Regions from separate parts of the Homo sapiens genome. Here region 1 is linked to region 2. The links are contacts of gene promoters, found by promoter capture Hi-C in blood cells and fetal thymus (Javierre and others, 2016). All regions are on one chromosome and are shown on one strand. Each heading gives the region's core, a stretch centred on a gene start or on the middle of the fragment in contact. The rest is flanking DNA. Distances are from core to core; before and after follow the strand shown. Region 1 has its middle 19 kb from the start of SNORA7B. Region 2 holds the start of RHO (rhodopsin).

The links. The method cuts DNA at HindIII sites, captures the fragments that hold promoters and counts their contacts. A CHiCAGO score of 5 or more calls a contact.
Region 1: a contact is called between a fragment that was not itself captured here and the fragment with the promoter of RHO in region 2, in 2 of 17 cell types (endothelial precursors and M1 macrophages). The highest score is 6.7, in endothelial precursors.

What each region holds. Positions count from the first base shown.
Region 1 is chr3:129,375,467-129,380,825 of GRCh38, forward strand. No RefSeq gene overlaps it. Among named protein-coding and RNA genes, the nearest start is that of SNORA7B, 19 kb to the right of the region's middle. The HindIII fragment of the contact is 2,110 bases long and covers 2,012-4,121 here.
Region 2 is chr3:129,525,055-129,530,238 of GRCh38, forward strand. It overlaps RHO (rhodopsin), which reads left to right and starts at 3,585. Exons shown (of 5, transcript NM_000539.3): 1 at 3,585-4,040. The coding sequence starts at 3,680. RefSeq lists a silencer at 1,138-1,338 and enhancers at 3,536-4,261, 4,262-4,987. The HindIII fragment of the contact is 8,320 bases long and covers 2,016-5,184 here.

The DNA.
Region 1 (5,359 bases), core at 1,817-4,316, 150 kb before region 2:
CCATATCTCCCATGCCAAGTTTCGCTTTAAAACCCCTATGGTCAATTTGAAAAGGTAAGATGCTCCTTTAGAACGCTCGTTTGACATCTCCATTTGCCGGCTCTCCAATTAAACCTGCTTTTCTTCCCACCAGCCCTCACCTTTCATGTTTGGCTCATGTAGCTGAACCTGGGTCCACTTACAGAGGTTAACGATCATGCCTGCATTTTGCCCAGTGCTTCCTCAATTCTGGAGCACCTCTCTTGTTTGCCGATGGTAGCCTGAGCTGGGCAGGGCATCCAAACAGAAGTTAATGGATTTAGGCTGGGCACGGTGGCTCACACCTGTAATCCCAGCACATTGGGAGGCCGAGGTGGGTTGATCACTTGACGTCAGAAGTTTGAGACCAGCCTGGCCAACACAGTGAAATGCTGTCTCTACTAAAAATACAAAAATTAGCTGGCGTGGTGGTGCATGCCTGTAATCCCAGCTACTTGGGAGGCTGAGGCACAAGAATCGCTTGAACCTGTGAGGTGGATGTTGCAGTGAGCTGAGATCACGCCACTGCACTCCAGCCTCGGCAACAGAGTGAGACTCCATCTAAAAAAAAAAAAAAAAAAAAGTTAATGGATTTACCCTAAGTCACAAGCCTAGGATGTAGCTGAGCTAGGTCACCTGTTCCCCAGCCCATGCCTGCTGCCCGGCTAAAGGAGGGGAAGGTGAGAAGGATGGCACAGTGGAAAAGATAAGCTCTTGGGAGCAGCCACGTCTTGCTGTCAGAGGGTAAATGGCTATAAACCAAAAAGTATTTGACACAAGTCTCCATCACCTTAGGTTTCTTTTGCTAAGGTCAAGGGCCATGGCCTGACAAAGCCTAAGGAGGTCCTGAGAACATGTGCCCAAGGTGGCTGGGTCACAGCTTGGTTTTTGTTTGTTTGTTTCTTTTTGTTTTTGTTTTTTGAGATGGAGTCTCACTCTGTCGCCCAGGCTGGAGTGCAGTGGCACAATCTCGGCTCACTGCAAGTTCCACCTGCTGGGTTCACGCCATTCTCCTGCCTCAGCCTCCCAAGTAGCTGGGACTACAGGCGGAGTCTCGCTCTGTTGCCCAGGCTGGAGTGCAGTGGTGCGATCTTAGCTCACTGCAAGCTCCGCCTCCAGGGTTCATGCCATTCTCCTGCCTCAGCCTCCCAAGTAGCTGGGACTACAGGCGGAGTCTCGCTCTGTTGCCCAGGCTGGAGTGCAGTGGTGCGATCTTAGCTCACTGCAAGCTCCGCCTCCAGGGTTCATGCCATTCTCCTGCCTCAGCCTCCTGAGTAGCTGGGACTACAGGCGCCTGCCACCACGCCTGGCTAATTTTTTGTATTTTTAGTAGAGACGGGGTTTCACCGTGTTAGCCAGGATGGTCTCAATCTCCTGAACTGATGATCCACCTGCCTCGGCCTCCCAAAGTGCAGGGATTACAGGCATGAGCCACCACTCCCAGCCTAATGTATATGTTTATCATTCAACATTTGTTGAGTAGTAAAAATATGAATCAAATAATGATAATCCTAATGATAACATTATTATTATTATTTTTATTTTTGAGATGGAGTCTCACTGTGTCGCCCAGGCTGGACTGCAGTGGTGTGATTTCAGCTCACTGCAAGCTCCACCTCCTGGGTTCATGCCATTCTCCTGCCTCAGCCTCCTGAGTAGCTGGGACTACAGGTGCCCACCACCATGCTCAGCTAATTTTTTATATTTTTAGTAGAGATGGGGTTTCACCATGTTAGCCAGGATAGTGTCAATCTCCTGACCTCATGATCCACCCACCTCGGCCTCCCAAAGTGCTGGGACTACAGGTGTCAGCCACAGTGCCCAGCCAAGCCCAGGTTCTTTTCATGTAGATGAAGCCTTCAGGTAGCAAACTTCAGAGAGAATAGATGGCAAATGTCTCTTGTCTGACCTTAAAAAGTGTCAGCCTCTCCAGAAAAGACCTAGTAAGAGAAGGAGATTCTCTACAGAATGCAAATTTTCCCACACAAGAGAAAGCTTTGCAGGCCCATTTCAAAATATGTCAACAAAATATATTTTGGGGTAAAATACTTTGATTTCCTTAAGGGCCTACTGTTTCATGATGCTGTCATGAAAAAAAACTAGTTCCAACCATCATGGGCATAAGGAGACCCACAATGGGTAGCTCCTCTCTGTAGGCAGGTGGTCCTGTGGAGTGTTCAGCTCTCAGCAGAGAGGAGGCCCTGGGAGGGTGGCTCCTCTCTGCAGGCAGTTCATCTCATTGTCTCTGCAGCTCTCAGTAGATTGGAGCCCCTGGAGAGGGTAGCTCCACTCTCTACTGGTCGTCCTGACATCTGCCGAACTCCTAGCAGAGAGGAAGCCCTGGAGTGGGTTGCTCCTCTCTGAAGCTGGTAGTCCCAACATCTCTGCAGGCCTGTGAAGCTCTCAGCAGAAAGGGTAGCTCTTCTCTGCAGCTGGTCATCCCATAGTCTGCTTAGCTCTGGCTGAACCTGGGGTTTTTATGGGCCTCAGAGGGGAAAAAGTGTATGCTGATTGGTACTTGGGTGGGCCTGGAAAAGGCACCACAAGTTCCCAGTCCAGTCCATGAGACTGGCAGCCTTGGTTCCCAGCCTTCAGACCCTCCCTGGCCTGAAGGTGGGGCCTCACTGGGGACCGGCCCCCTTCCATCCAGGAATCTGTCTGCCTCCTGCTGCCTTCATGACACCTGAGCTTGGCCCCAACATTCCTCCAAGATTGGAGTGGGCAACAACAGCAGGGAGAAGCCAGGCAATGGGAGCAGGCACTGCTGAGCCTGCAAGGGGAAGGGATGCTTCCTGGCCCTCAAGAGTGCAGGGGTGCCTGAGTCTGCAGCCATGGTTTAGGCAGCTACAGCTGTGCCTGGGAGGGCAGGGATCCTGCTTGCTCCTGGCCTCCCAAGAGCACAGGGAGGCTCAGACCTGCAGCCACAAGTTGGGCAGCTACAGCCCTGCCCCGGAGGGCAGGGCTCCTGCCTGCTCTGTGGAGTGGGAGGCCCAGGTCTGCAACCCAATGGTTTGGGCAGCTGCAGTGGCACCTGGGGAGCTCCCACCCCAACTTGGAAGGGCTTCATGGAGTGTGCAACCCCAGCCACGTCTCCCTGCTGCAGCTGGGAGCTACAGTTGAACAGTTGGCTACATTTCATTGTCCAAAACACAGTGATCTGGAGCAGCCACTGCCATCAATGGTATATCAGAATCATGTTGAAATACGGTGTTCTATTGCTGTTACTGGAAGGAGGGCCTTGGGTGTAAGTTGTCTAGGTTCTTGGTGTTTTGAACAAAAAACTGGACAAAATGCACTAAGTAACAAAGGAATGAAACACAGGATCGAAGTACCAAAATCAGGGATTTATAAAAGAGAGAAGGTACGCCACAGGGTGGGACTGGGCCCGAGCAGCTCAAGGGCCCAGTTACAAAGTTTTCTGGGTTTCAAGCACTCCTTTTGAGGTTCCTATCAGTTACCCCTTATATAGTTGAAGGATTTGGTCTGTGGCTAAGTAAACACTGAGGTGAATGGCACCCTATGCAGATGAAGGGATGGTCCCTGCTTGGCCTGTGGCCACTCCAAGCCACTCTCCCTTTTTGTCTAAGCCATGGTGGAAGGGGGAGGGTTGTAGAAAGAGTAACCTTTGACCCTTTGCTACTAAGGCATGGGGAGCTGGGTTTTTCCTTTCGGTTTAGCTTCAGGAAGTTGGCATTAACTGGCCTTAGGGCCCCTGCCTCCAGACCCAGGTGTTTCCCTTTTGATCCAGCTTTGGGAAGTCAGCACAAATTGGCCTCAGATTCCCTGCTTCCCCCCAGACCTTGGTGTTTTTCCTTGATTCAGCATGAATTGGCCTTAAGTTCCTTGCCTCCAGACTGTACTATCCTGCCTCATTGCTACAGAGTCTGTTTTGTCAGTCTTGAGACCCCAGTTTTCTTGTTAATACTGGTCTATTGTGTCTAAACTCTAAAGGGAGGAGGGTAAAATGAGGCAAGTCTGACCCCTTATGCCCATGATGGTTGGAACTAGTTTTTTAGGGGTTTTTTGGAATTCCCCTTCTCCAAGGGGAGGGGTTCATTCAATGGAGGCACAGAGGGCTTAGAGTTTTACTTTTGGTTTACACAAGCTTAAAGAGAAAAAACTTGCCTTCAATACTAAAACTAAAAGATGGGACTGGAAATTTCAAAGATAAAGACCCCAAACAGAGAAAACAGCACTTCCACATCCACATTTGGGAACCATTAGCACAGAGGTCCCAGGTGACTGCTCTTTCCTGCCCAGGAAGCCAGGAGAGATGCAGGCCCCCGAAGCACACTGGCTGGCCTAAAACAAGGGCAAGGCCTTTCCTTGTTGAAGATGTCCCGGCCAAACTCAGACTCGTTCTTGTTCCCGCATGACGCAGGAGAATAGGGTCTGGAGGGAGGGAACCTAAGGCCGATTCATGCTGACTTCCTAGAACTGAATCAAAAGGAAAACCTCACCTCTTCACACCCAAGTAACAAAAGGATCAGAGGCTACTCCCTTTGCACTACATAGCAGATAAAAAATAAAAAAGTACCTCTGATTGGTCCCCTCCTGCAACCAATCACAATGGTTGTGGACCATTCCTTCATTTACGTAGGGTATAACAAAGTAACCAATGGGAAACCTCTGGAAGGTACTCAAACCCTAGAAGATTTTGCAACTGGTGCTCTTGAGCCACTTCCTCAAGCCTGCTGTCACTCTGTGGAGTGTACTTTGGTTTCAATAAATCTGTGCTTTTGTTGCTTCATTCCTTCACTGCTTTGTGTGTTTTGTTCAATTCTTTGTTGAAAACACCAAGAACCTGATGGCTTGTGGTCAAGACCCTCCACCAGTAACATGTACACACATATGCACATATACACATGACCACATACGTGGCAGGAAGGGGCACAGAACCTGGAGTCAAGTCACCTCTGGCTATTGCCAGCTATTTGCTGGGACAGGTCAGTTGTCCTCTCTGAGTCTCGGTCTCCTGGGCTGTAGCCAGGGAGAAATAATATCTACTGTACAGGACTATGGGGACAGCCAAAAGCCCTTTATAAACCTAAGAAAGAGAAGTCGTTAGGAACTATTCATGGGCACTCACAGCAAGGCAACCCCATCTTGTAGGATGGCATCTGTCCCCAGGGCAGGGAGCAGGAGACCTGTTTCCAGGGGTTTCCAGGGTAACTTGGAGCAAATCACTTACCTTTCTTGGACTCAGTCCCTGGAAGAAGAGGCCATCCCAGACCCCTTCCTCCCAGGAACTCATTCATTCTGTCAGCAAACATAGACTGGGGGCCTGCCAAAGGTGGCGGGTACAACCCATCACTGCCCATGGGCTATGCACCGCCTTGCT
Region 2 (5,184 bases), core at 2,335-4,834:
TGGTGTGTAGGATGGTCAGGGGTGGTCTCTCCAAGGACATGAGTGTGAGCGGAGACCTGAAGGAGACTCAGGAAGAGATTAATACTGTCAGCAACAAATATATTGATCACTTACAAGCACTCCCAATAATCCTATTAGGTAGGCACTATTATCATTCCCATTTTACAGAGTGGAGAACCGAAGCACACTCTCGGGAGGGCGGGGTAGCTGGCTGCACCCAGGCTGTGTAGCCTCAGTCCAGATGTAAGGGTGGGTGGAAAAGAGCCTTGCCCAATGAGGGAGAACAGTGAAACCAAGGCCATAGGGTCTAAAGATTCACGAACCAGGCTCTCATGGAGAAAGCAGGTGAGGTTTACTGTATAGATGGGTGTGCCCCTACCCCACACTGAGGCTTCCTCGTCTGAGCAAACTGAGGCCCAGAGAGGGGAAGGAAGCAGGACTACCATGGTGACTCAAAGACCAGCTAGAATCCAGCCTCCTCTCCTCGAGGCTTCCACTGCCCCACGCCAGGCCTGTGTGACTCAGTCTAGGGCCTTTCCATTACCCCAGCTAAACCTTTCTTTAGTCATTTATACCATGGTGTGAATGGCTGGCTGGTCTTTCCTGAGAGCTATCTTTGATGAGGGGAGGGAGGCATAGCCAGGTTTGGGAAGCTGATACCCCAGGAAGCCCAGTTGACTGTGTGGGTTATAGCCCAGGCTGTCACTGATTTGTAACGGGACCTGAGCAACTCTGCAGAGCTAGGCCTCAGTCTTTTCATCTGCAAAATGGATATAGCAGAGATGGTCAGAGTAGGTGACTTCGAATGACCCTTCCAGCTCACTATGAGTCTGTTTTCCTGAACAAAGAGCATTTTTTGTTTAAAAAAAAATTTCTTGGGCCGGACACGGTGGTTCACTCCTATAATCCTGGCACTTTGGGAGGCCGAGGAGGGTGGATCGCTTGAGCCAGGAGTTCAGGACCAGCCTGGGCAACATAGCGAGACTCCACCCCTACAAAAAATACAAAAACTAGTGGTGTGCACTTGTGGTCCCAGCTACTCAGGAGGCTGAGGTGAGAGGATCGCTTGAGCCCAGGAGGCAGAGGCTACAGTGAGCTATGATTGTGGCACTGCACTCCAGCCTGGGCGACAGAGACCTTGTCTCAAAACTTTTTTTTTCTTCGTCAAGCTTTACAGAATAAAGAGCACTGTCACCTCAGTGATGGCTGTTAGTTCCCCATCACCAGGGCTCCATGAGGTTGCAATTGTGAAACTCACAAAGGAGGAACCTGAGACAGAGAGGGGAAGTACTGAGATCATCTAGGTCCATTCCCCCACTCACTCGTTCATTCAACAAATATTCAGGAGCACCTTCTAGGTGCCAGGCCCTGGAGACACATCAGTGAACAAAACAGACATCATCCCACCTCTTTCCACTACAGGCCAAGCACCATGCTGGTCTCTGGGAACCCTGTTGTGAGCAAGACAGACCCAGGCTTACCCTTGTGGACTCATGTTACAGGCAGGGAGACGGGCACAAAACACAAATAAAAAGCTTCCATGCTGTCAGAAGCACTATGCAAAAAGCAAGATGCTGAGGTACTGCTAAGCTGTGTGGGATGGGGGCTCAGCCCGGCCAGGGAGGGGCCAGTTGTGGGTCAGTCTTGACCCAAGGCATCCAGGACACCCTCCTTCTGGCCATGAGGGTCCACGTCAGAATCAAACCCTCACCTTAACCTCATTAGCGTTGGGCATAATCACCAGGCCAAGCGCCTTAAACTACGAGAGGCCCCATCCCACCCGCCCTGCCTTAGCCCTGCCACGTGTGCCAAACGCTGTTAGACCCAACACCACCCAGGCCAGGTAGGGGGCTGGAGCCCAGGTGGGCTGCAGGGAAGGGGGCACTCTTCTGAGCAGACAGATCTGGGAATCCTGGGTGGGAAGAGAGACAGTGAGAGAGAGATTAAGGGATATTTCCCAGGCATCAGGGCTTTGCACTCTCAGGGGTCCTTCCGCCTGGATGTCCTTCCCCTGAAGCTTCCTCCTGTTGTTCCGTTCTCAGCTCAAGCTCCAGCTTCTCAGAGAAGCCTCCTGTGTTGGGAGTGGCTGCGACTGAACTGTCCCTACTGTTATTCGCTCTTCTATTTGTTTGTGGTCCCTGTGCCCCCTCACCCCACAAAAACACTGGCTTCTTGTGAGCAGGAGCTTGCTCTTTCGTGTACCCTGTGTGTCCCCAAGGACCAAGCACCTTGTCTGGGCCACAGTAGGTGCTCAATACACATGTTGGCTGGACAGTGGTCACTGAGCGGCCGCACGTCGGGCACTCTCAGCACTTGCACAGGCCGCCCCAGACACCCCACTTCATTCCTGGGAGGTGTCATCATGTTGCTTGGACGACGGGGAGAGGGGGACCTGCCAGTGTTGGCCTCCATTTTCCCCCAGTCATCTGCCCCCAAGGCTCTGACTACTTTCTTTCTCACGGTACATCCTGCTATTCTGGAATCGGCCCTCGTGGGGCCACCTGGTACATGGCATTTGAGGCCCTCGTGGCTGATTAGGCCTCCCCCAACAGTGCCCTGTCTGCTGCCTCCAGGGCCAGCCTCCCCTTCAGACTGGAGTCCCCTGAAGGGTTCTGCCCCTCCCCTGCTCTGGTAGCCCCCTCCATCCTCCCTCCCTCCACTCCATCTTTGGGGGCATTTGAGTCACCTTTCTACACCAGTGATCTGCCCAAGCCACTGCTCACTTTCCTCTGGATAAAGCCAGGTTCCCCGGCCTAGCGTTCAAGACCCATTACAACTGCCCCCAGCCCAGATCTTCCCCACCTAGCCACCTGGCAAACTGCTCCTTCTCTCAAAGGCCCAAACATGGCCTCCCAGACTGCAACCCCCAGGCAGTCAGGCCCTGTCTCCACAACCTCACAGCCACCCTGGACGGAATCTGCTTCTTCCCACATTTGAGTCCTCCTCAGCCCCTGAGCTCCTCTGGGCAGGGCTGTTTCTTTCCATCTTTGTATTCCCAGGGGCCTGCAAATAAATGTTTAATGAACGAACAAGAGAGTGAATTCCAATTCCATGCAACAAGGATTGGGCTCCTGGGCCCTAGGCTATGTGTCTGGCACCAGAAACGGAAGCTGCAGGTTGCAGCCCCTGCCCTCATGGAGCTCCTCCTGTCAGAGGAGTGTGGGGACTGGATGACTCCAGAGGTAACTTGTGGGGGAACGAACAGGTAAGGGGCTGTGTGACGAGATGAGAGACTGGGAGAATAAACCAGAAAGTCTCTAGCTGTCCAGAGGACATAGCACAGAGGCCCATGGTCCCTATTTCAAACCCAGGCCACCAGACTGAGCTGGGACCTTGGGACAGACAAGTCATGCAGAAGTTAGGGGACCTTCTCCTCCCTTTTCCTGGATCCTGAGTACCTCTCCTCCCTGACCTCAGGCTTCCTCCTAGTGTCACCTTGGCCCCTCTTAGAAGCCAATTAGGCCCTCAGTTTCTGCAGCGGGGATTAATATGATTATGAACACCCCCAATCTCCCAGATGCTGATTCAGCCAGGAGCTTAGGAGGGGGAGGTCACTTTATAAGGGTCTGGGGGGGTCAGAACCCAGAGTCATCCAGCTGGAGCCCTGAGTGGCTGAGCTCAGGCCTTCGCAGCATTCTTGGGTGGGAGCAGCCACGGGTCAGCCACAAGGGCCACAGCCATGAATGGCACAGAAGGCCCTAACTTCTACGTGCCCTTCTCCAATGCGACGGGTGTGGTACGCAGCCCCTTCGAGTACCCACAGTACTACCTGGCTGAGCCATGGCAGTTCTCCATGCTGGCCGCCTACATGTTTCTGCTGATCGTGCTGGGCTTCCCCATCAACTTCCTCACGCTCTACGTCACCGTCCAGCACAAGAAGCTGCGCACGCCTCTCAACTACATCCTGCTCAACCTAGCCGTGGCTGACCTCTTCATGGTCCTAGGTGGCTTCACCAGCACCCTCTACACCTCTCTGCATGGATACTTCGTCTTCGGGCCCACAGGATGCAATTTGGAGGGCTTCTTTGCCACCCTGGGCGGTATGAGCCGGGTGTGGGTGGGGTGTGCAGGAGCCCGGGAGCATGGAGGGGTCTGGGAGAGTCCCGGGCTTGGCGGTGGTGGCTGAGAGGCCTTCTCCCTTCTCCTGTCCTGTCAATGTTATCCAAAGCCCTCATATATTCAGTCAACAAACACCATTCATGGTGATAGCCGGGCTGCTGTTTGTGCAGGGCTGGCACTGAACACTGCCTTGATCTTATTTGGAGCAATATGCGCTTGTCTAATTTCACAGCAAGAAAACTGAGCTGAGGCTCAAAGAAGTCAAGCGCCCTGCTGGGGCGTCACACAGGGACGGGTGCAGAGTTGAGTTGGAAGCCCGCATCTATCTCGGGCCATGTTTGCAGCACCAAGCCTCTGTTTCCCTTGGAGCAGCTGTGCTGAGTCAGACCCAGGCTGGGCACTGAGGGAGAGCTGGGCAAGCCAGACCCCTCCTCTCTGGGGGCCCAAGCTCAGGGTGGGAAGTGGATTTTCCATTCTCCAGTCATTGGGTCTTCCCTGTGCTGGGCAATGGGCTCGGTCCCCTCTGGCATCCTCTGCCTCCCCTCTCAGCCCCTGTCCTCAGGTGCCCCTCCAGCCTCCCTGCCGCGTTCCAAGTCTCCTGGTGTTGAGAACCGCAAGCAGCCGCTCTGAAGCAGTTCCTTTTTGCTTTAGAATAATGTCTTGCATTTAACAGGAAAACAGATGGGGTGCTGCAGGGATAACAGATCCCACTTAACAGAGAGGAAAACTGAGGCAGGGAGAGGGGAAGAGACTCATTTAGGGATGTGGCCAGGCAGCAACAAGAGCCTAGGTCTCCTGGCTGTGATCCAGGAATATCTCTGCTGAGATGCAGGAGGAGACGCTAGAAGCAGCCATTGCAAAGCTGGGTGACGGGGAGAGCTTACCGCCAGCCACAAGCGTCTCTCTGCCAGCCTTGCCCTGTCTCCCCCATGTCCAGGCTGCTGCCTCGGTCCCATTCTCAGGGAATCTCTGGCCATTGTTGGGTGTTTGTTGCATTCAATAATCACAGATCACTCAGTTCTGGCCAGAAGGTGGGTGTGCCACTTACGGGTGGTTGTTCTCTGCAGGGTCAGTCCCAGTTTACAAATATTGTCCCTTTCACTGTTAGGAATGTCCCAGTTTGGT